Linked DNA regions of Homo sapiens: region 1 is linked to region 2. Evidence: promoter capture Hi-C in 16 types of primary human blood cells and fetal thymus (Javierre and others, 2016). All regions are on one chromosome and are shown on one strand. The core of a region is centred on a gene start or on the middle of the fragment in contact, and the rest is flanking DNA. Distances in the headings are between cores, read along the strand shown. Region 1 overlaps RAPGEF4 (Rap guanine nucleotide exchange factor 4). Region 2 holds the start of CDCA7 (cell division cycle associated 7).

Region 1 (2,700 bases), core at 130-2,629, 380 kb before region 2:
ACGTTGGAATTGGGCTGGCACTTCTGGAACTCTTCAGTTTTCTTTCTGCTGAAATAACAGCTCCCGAGAGATGGGAAAGTGAAAAATAAGGAATCTAATTTTGGGAGACAGATATTCCAACTCTACATGTACATACACACACACACCCTTTTTTTTTTTTTTTGATCTGCTAATAATCTTTGGAGCTACTACTTTATTTAAGTGGAAAGAAAACAAGCTTAGTTGATCAAGAATTGCCAGTATCACTACTGTCCTTGAAGGGACCAACCAAGCACTTCACTCCTGGAAACTGAGGGCATGTTCAGAGGTCCTGGAAATGTTGACTTTCTACTGCCGAAAGTGCTAAGTCATTAAGAAATGTGGAGGCATGAGATGCATTGGCTTCATACTGACCAGGGCAGGACCCCCAACTTTTAAACTCAGCACGGCTGCATTTTATAATAGTCACCACTGCCAGAGAGGTTGCAGAACTCTGATAATTACTGGGAAAGAAATAACACAATATTCTTTGATGAGAAGATTACTTTGAGAATTTGATTGTATAATGAAGATGTTGCTTTGAAAGGTACTTCCTATTGTTCTGAATCTGAGACTTGCTAGCAAAAAAAAAAAGTGTCACTTGTTTTGACAGGCTACTTAGAAAAATTCTCTGTTTATTACATTAACTGCAGCATTTTAACTGTCAAACTATGAAAGAATGTTCTGTAGTTTAAAAAACAGAATAGAGCTTCAGGGGAAATTTTTTGGCACACTCTTGTTGCTATTGGTATTGAAAAAAAACACATACATTCTGCATGTGAAATTAGCTTTTTATGTGGTGGCAGACAGAGTGACTCACAATGCCCGTCCTGGTTTCGCAGGTGCAGACCTGGATGGCATTTGGGGGCAAGTGCTACAGAACGATGACAGTTTGACGGTGCTGTTGTTGTAGCTCTGAGACAGGGCCATCAAACACTGAATGAGCTCTCCAAGCTTATTGTTTTGATTTTGCTTTGTTTATAAATCTAAAAACAAGAGGTTGCCCTATAGCAAGTAGATATAATGGGTACTCTTACCAGTAGAAATGTGCATTTTGGCTTTCTTTGAGCAGGTACTTTGGTTAGAGAAATATGAGTAAAAGGATCTGGAGTGACTAGGTAAACAGAGTATTGTAAACTTGAGGCCAACTGTGGATAAAAAAGAGGCTTCAAGGAGACAGGACGCTCTGCTGTACAAGCCTTCCAACCACTCCTTCCAAGTAAAGTGAGACATAGGTTCCAATGTTCAGGATGGTCTATCAGAGACCAGCCTAAAGTTGGGAGGACAGTTAAGTAGACACTGTTTCCCAAATCAAAATTTAGGTCTGCAGTTCTGAAAATGCCTAACAGTAGAAGCCTAAGTAAGTTGAGAAAGAGAAAAGTCATTTGGGCCCGAGCAGAGAGAAATATATGTATATATAAGAGAATTGTTAGAAGTTGGGGAATCTTCCAACTGGGTCAGAAACACACAAACTTGAGTTCGTTTATTTTATGTGATAAATTAATATTTCAGTTGCCCTTGGGATTTTTCCCATCTCCCTAGGTTTTTTGAAACTTTTTAAACATTGGAATTGGGCTGGCAGTTTCTTCTTTTGACTCTTTCTGCTGGAATAAGAGCTCTGAGAGATGGGAAAGTGAAAAGTAAGGAATCTAATTTTAGGAGACAGACAGTCCAACTCTACATGCACGTACACACATACCCCATTTTTTTTTTGATCTGCTAATAATCTTTGGAGTTACTATTTAATTTTACTTAAACGGAAAGAAAACAAGCTTCGTTGGTCAAGAATTGCCAGTATCATTGTTGTCTTGAAGAGACCATCTGAACACACCTTGCTCCTGAAAACTGAGAGCATGTTCAAAGGTCCTGGAAATGGTTTTTTTGTTTGTTTTCTTATTGCCCATACTCTGCTAAGGCATTAAGAAATATGGAAACGTGAGATATATTGGCTTCATATCAAACATATGCTATAGGGCGTAAAGTTGAAAGGCAACAATTTAAGATGGATTAAATGACATAAAGGCAAAATACTGTGGGCGGGGGTGGGGAGGGTATTGTTTATCCCTTAATTGGCTGCCCTAATGCAAGGCTGTCCTGCAGAGGCTGGGTGGAGACTACCCTGCTGCTGTTCGATTCCACACACTTGCTCTAGAGGGCGCGTGAGAGCCTGTGTATTGTGTCTTAATTAGCAGTGCCTGTTTTAATAGGATCTTTATTTGTCTAAACTCTTTTCCAGGGTGTGGAATTTAAAATCCTGGTAATTATAGAGGGATTTGTTTCTTCGGGGGATTCCAGATTAGCAAGCCTAAAATTGGTGGTGGTTAGGGTTTTGATTTCTGCTGGGATGTGTCAAGAGAATGTCCACAGTTACGAAGTTCATCTCAAATGTTAATCAGATGAGAAGAAAAGCACGACCGAAAGAACCTAGGCTTCTGAAGTAAGACAGTCACGGCGAATCCTTCCTTCACTGCATGGTGACCTTCACCTTGGTCTTTACTGGAAAGATTTTGGCGTCACAAGTGAAAGCTTGTAGAATTTACCTGAATAAATGATTGCATTAAGTAGGTCATTTCTCTGCCTCTCCCCATGAAAGCAATTTATTCTTATTCCTCATATCCACATGGCCTGAAACCAGCCATTGGATTGCTACCTTTATGATTAAGATTCAGGAGAGGGGAGGAT
Region 2 (2,884 bases), core at 134-2,633:
CAGAACCTTTCACAGGCAAAGTGACTTAATCTTCCCCTGCTTCATGGATCTAGTAATTCCAAATTTTCATATATTTAGCTTTAGTGGCACAAAATTATATTCCCAAATGTTTATTCATTCAACAAATACTTACTGAGGGCCCTGTAATTCCGTAATTTCACCACCCACCGATAGCCTCTCCTCCTGGCACTCACCTTCTAGACCTTGAGCTCTTTGTCCCTTGCACAGTGGCAGAGTGATTACTGGGTAGGTATATTTAAGAAAGGCTGGAAGACTCCTTCCAATCCATTGTCCTCGGGCATTATTTACTTGCTCACAGTTTTTGTATTCAGTACACCAAGAGAGGAACACAGTATGTCCATGCACTCTCTTACTGCAAAGGAATTAATTATTCCCCAGAGAAAAGTTTTGAAATGAGGGGGAAATGCGAATGTTTTCATTTCAAGCGCTTGTTTTAAATGTTAAGAGTATAATTAGTGTCTTCTAAAGAAACTAAATTTACTTTTTCTTGTAGAAGCAAGTTTTGCTCTTCACGCACACAAAAAGCCTCGCTTTATTTCATTTTTTCGTTGTAATGCCAAGTTTGGTTAAAAGGGCAATGAAAAGTTTTCTCGTTCGCACTGACTCAGGGTAGTTCTCAATTCTGAAGACAGAGAAGATCATCAAGCCACAATTGTTCAATCTTTAGTTTCAATCCCCAACAGATAATCGTTAAAGGTTAACTATACTATAGACGTCTTCATCAAGCTGCTGCGGCTTTTCTTCTACTTTGAAAACCACAAGTAAACAAGTCGGCTTCCTGTGCTTTTTGGAAAGAAAGATCAGGATTTAACTCATTTTATTGCTTCAGATAATGGTGTGGTTCCCAGATAAGAGGTGCTACATCCAGGGGCGGTGAACTCGATTATGAAGGGTGGAGTTCGTGCTGGATTCTATGATTTTTTAAATCTTGTAAACCGCACGCAGCAATGAAAGTGCTAAACGCCATGGTGCGTGACCCGCGCCACCCTCACGCTGCTCTCCTTTACCCCCCAGACTCCACTTTTCCTCCGCCACCACGAAAATTCTTGCAAATCAGACAGCTAACCCCGGGGCAATACGAACCATTTTCGCGCCACTCGCTCAGGACCGCGCAGCTGCACAAGGAGAGTGGTCCCCGTAGCCCCTAAAGCCCCCCTTTCTCAAAGGGGATTTTAGGAGTGCCCAAGGCTATCCTTTGAGGTCAGAATATATAGGGGGGTCGTGTTTTTTCCAGGGGGCCACCTAGTCTTGCGCCATGTCTGGCCGTTACCACAGCTTGCAGGACCTGTGTCCCAACGCGGGAAAGACAGCCCGAGCCCCGCCCCTCCGGGCCCGGGTCGGCGCGCCCAGCCTGCCAGCCGCGCTGCTGCTGCTCCTCCTGCTGTGGGACCGCTGACCGCGCGGCTGCTCCGCTCTCCCCGCTCCAAGCGCCGATCTGGGCACCCGCCACCAGCATGGACGCTCGCCGCGTGCCGGTGAGGGCTGGGCGGGCGAACCCGAGGGGCGGGCGCGGTGGGTGCTGGACGCAGGCGGGCGCGGGCCGACCCTCTCCAACTCCGCAGCCTAGCGCTGCCTTAACTGGTGGCCTGCCTAGGCGTTGCCCGCTTGGGCAAGCCCCTGATTTTGTGCACCTGGGATAACTGAGGGCCATGGGGACGTTCCTGCGTGGCGTGCGCACCCGAAGTGCGGGCGGCGTGGAGACTTGAGTCGTTTGCAGGATGGCTAGCAGCGCTGGAAAGCCCTAGGCACGTGCGTCCGCCAAAGGCCGGACAGCGGCCGGGAGCGCTGGCCGGTCCCGATTTTGCCTGCCAGGCAGAGCCAGCCTGCCTGCCCCCTGGGAGGTTGTCCCGCAGCGGCCCAGCCCTTTCCCGCACACAACTCGGAGCCAGTGCGTGGCTCGCCGCGTCTATACCCGCGCTCAGTGGGTGGCCCTTGGGCGCGCACCCCGCCCGGCAAGAGACGCGTCCGCTTCTAACCGCTGAGGGCCAGCGCGTCTGAGGTTTAAGGTCTTGCGAACCGGTCTCCTAGAACTTGGGCTGCGCACGCAGTGTGAAGCGACCGTAGTCCCGGGCGGTGGTTAAGTGCATTTAAAGGGCTTGGTGGGTCAAAGCGTTCGCCGACCATTTGCTCGTTTCCTACTTCCTCCACCCCAACCCCCAACCCCCCACCCCCCACCCCCCAGCCTTACTCTTAGCTGCAGGACGTTGCTCTGAGTGGAACGTTACTTTTTGCTCTAACGGAAGCCAGAACGTAGGGTCGGGCTCCTGGAGAGGGTAGAAGAGTGGGGGTTGGGTGAAACGGAAGACAATGACATGTTTAAAATAAATATCAGGGGTTAGGGACCCTCGCGGGGGTGGGTGCGATGGGGCGTGGTTTCAGAGCTGAGTCGCCGCCCCGGTGGAGCTGGGCATTGGCTTTCCGGATGAAGAAAACCATGTGTAGCTGGTCTTGGAACCTGACATGCCTGAGTTCAAATCTGAGCCACCATGGGACTTGAGTAATCCATTTCGCTTTCCTGAGCCTCAGTTTCCTCATTGGCTAAGTGAGAATAACGATAGCACCTTTGTTGCAAAGAATTAAACCTGACGTGAAAGTGTACTTAACATAGTGCCTGGCACGAAAAACGCCTACTATAAATGGTATTAGTTATTACTTACCTGCCAAAGAAGTTCATCTCCGTCTTGACTATTTGCCTTGCTGCTTTTTTGTGGCTTTTCCTCCAAAGATACGTTTGCCTGGTAAATAACTCTTGGCTTGTGCTGACTTGTTAAAGCTCAGCCTGTATTTCTCGGACAGCTTCCAATAGAATGCCGCCTTTGAGGCTGTCTGGGGCCTCTGACTGCTTGCAGGTAGATTGATGAGT

Evidence for each region. Contacts are between HindIII fragments. The CHiCAGO score rates a contact against its expected background, and 5 or more counts as called.
Region 1: a contact is called between a fragment that was not itself captured here and the fragment with the promoter of CDCA7 in region 2, in 1 of 17 cell types (fetal thymus). The highest score is 6.7, in fetal thymus.

What each region holds. Positions count from the first base shown.
Region 1 is chr2:172,970,035-172,972,734 of GRCh38, forward strand. The region is part of intron 10 of RAPGEF4 (Rap guanine nucleotide exchange factor 4); the gene reads left to right. Among named protein-coding and RNA genes, the nearest start is that of MAP3K20, 100 kb to the right of the region's middle. The HindIII fragment of the contact is 818 bases long and covers 971-1,788 here.
Region 2 is chr2:173,353,489-173,356,372 of GRCh38, forward strand. It overlaps CDCA7 (cell division cycle associated 7), which reads left to right and starts at 1,384. Exons shown (of 10, transcript NM_031942.5): 1 at 1,384-1,496. The coding sequence starts at 1,476. RefSeq lists enhancers at 428-1,383, 686-775 and a silencer at 1,326-1,595. The HindIII fragment of the contact is 4,998 bases long and covers 1-2,884 here.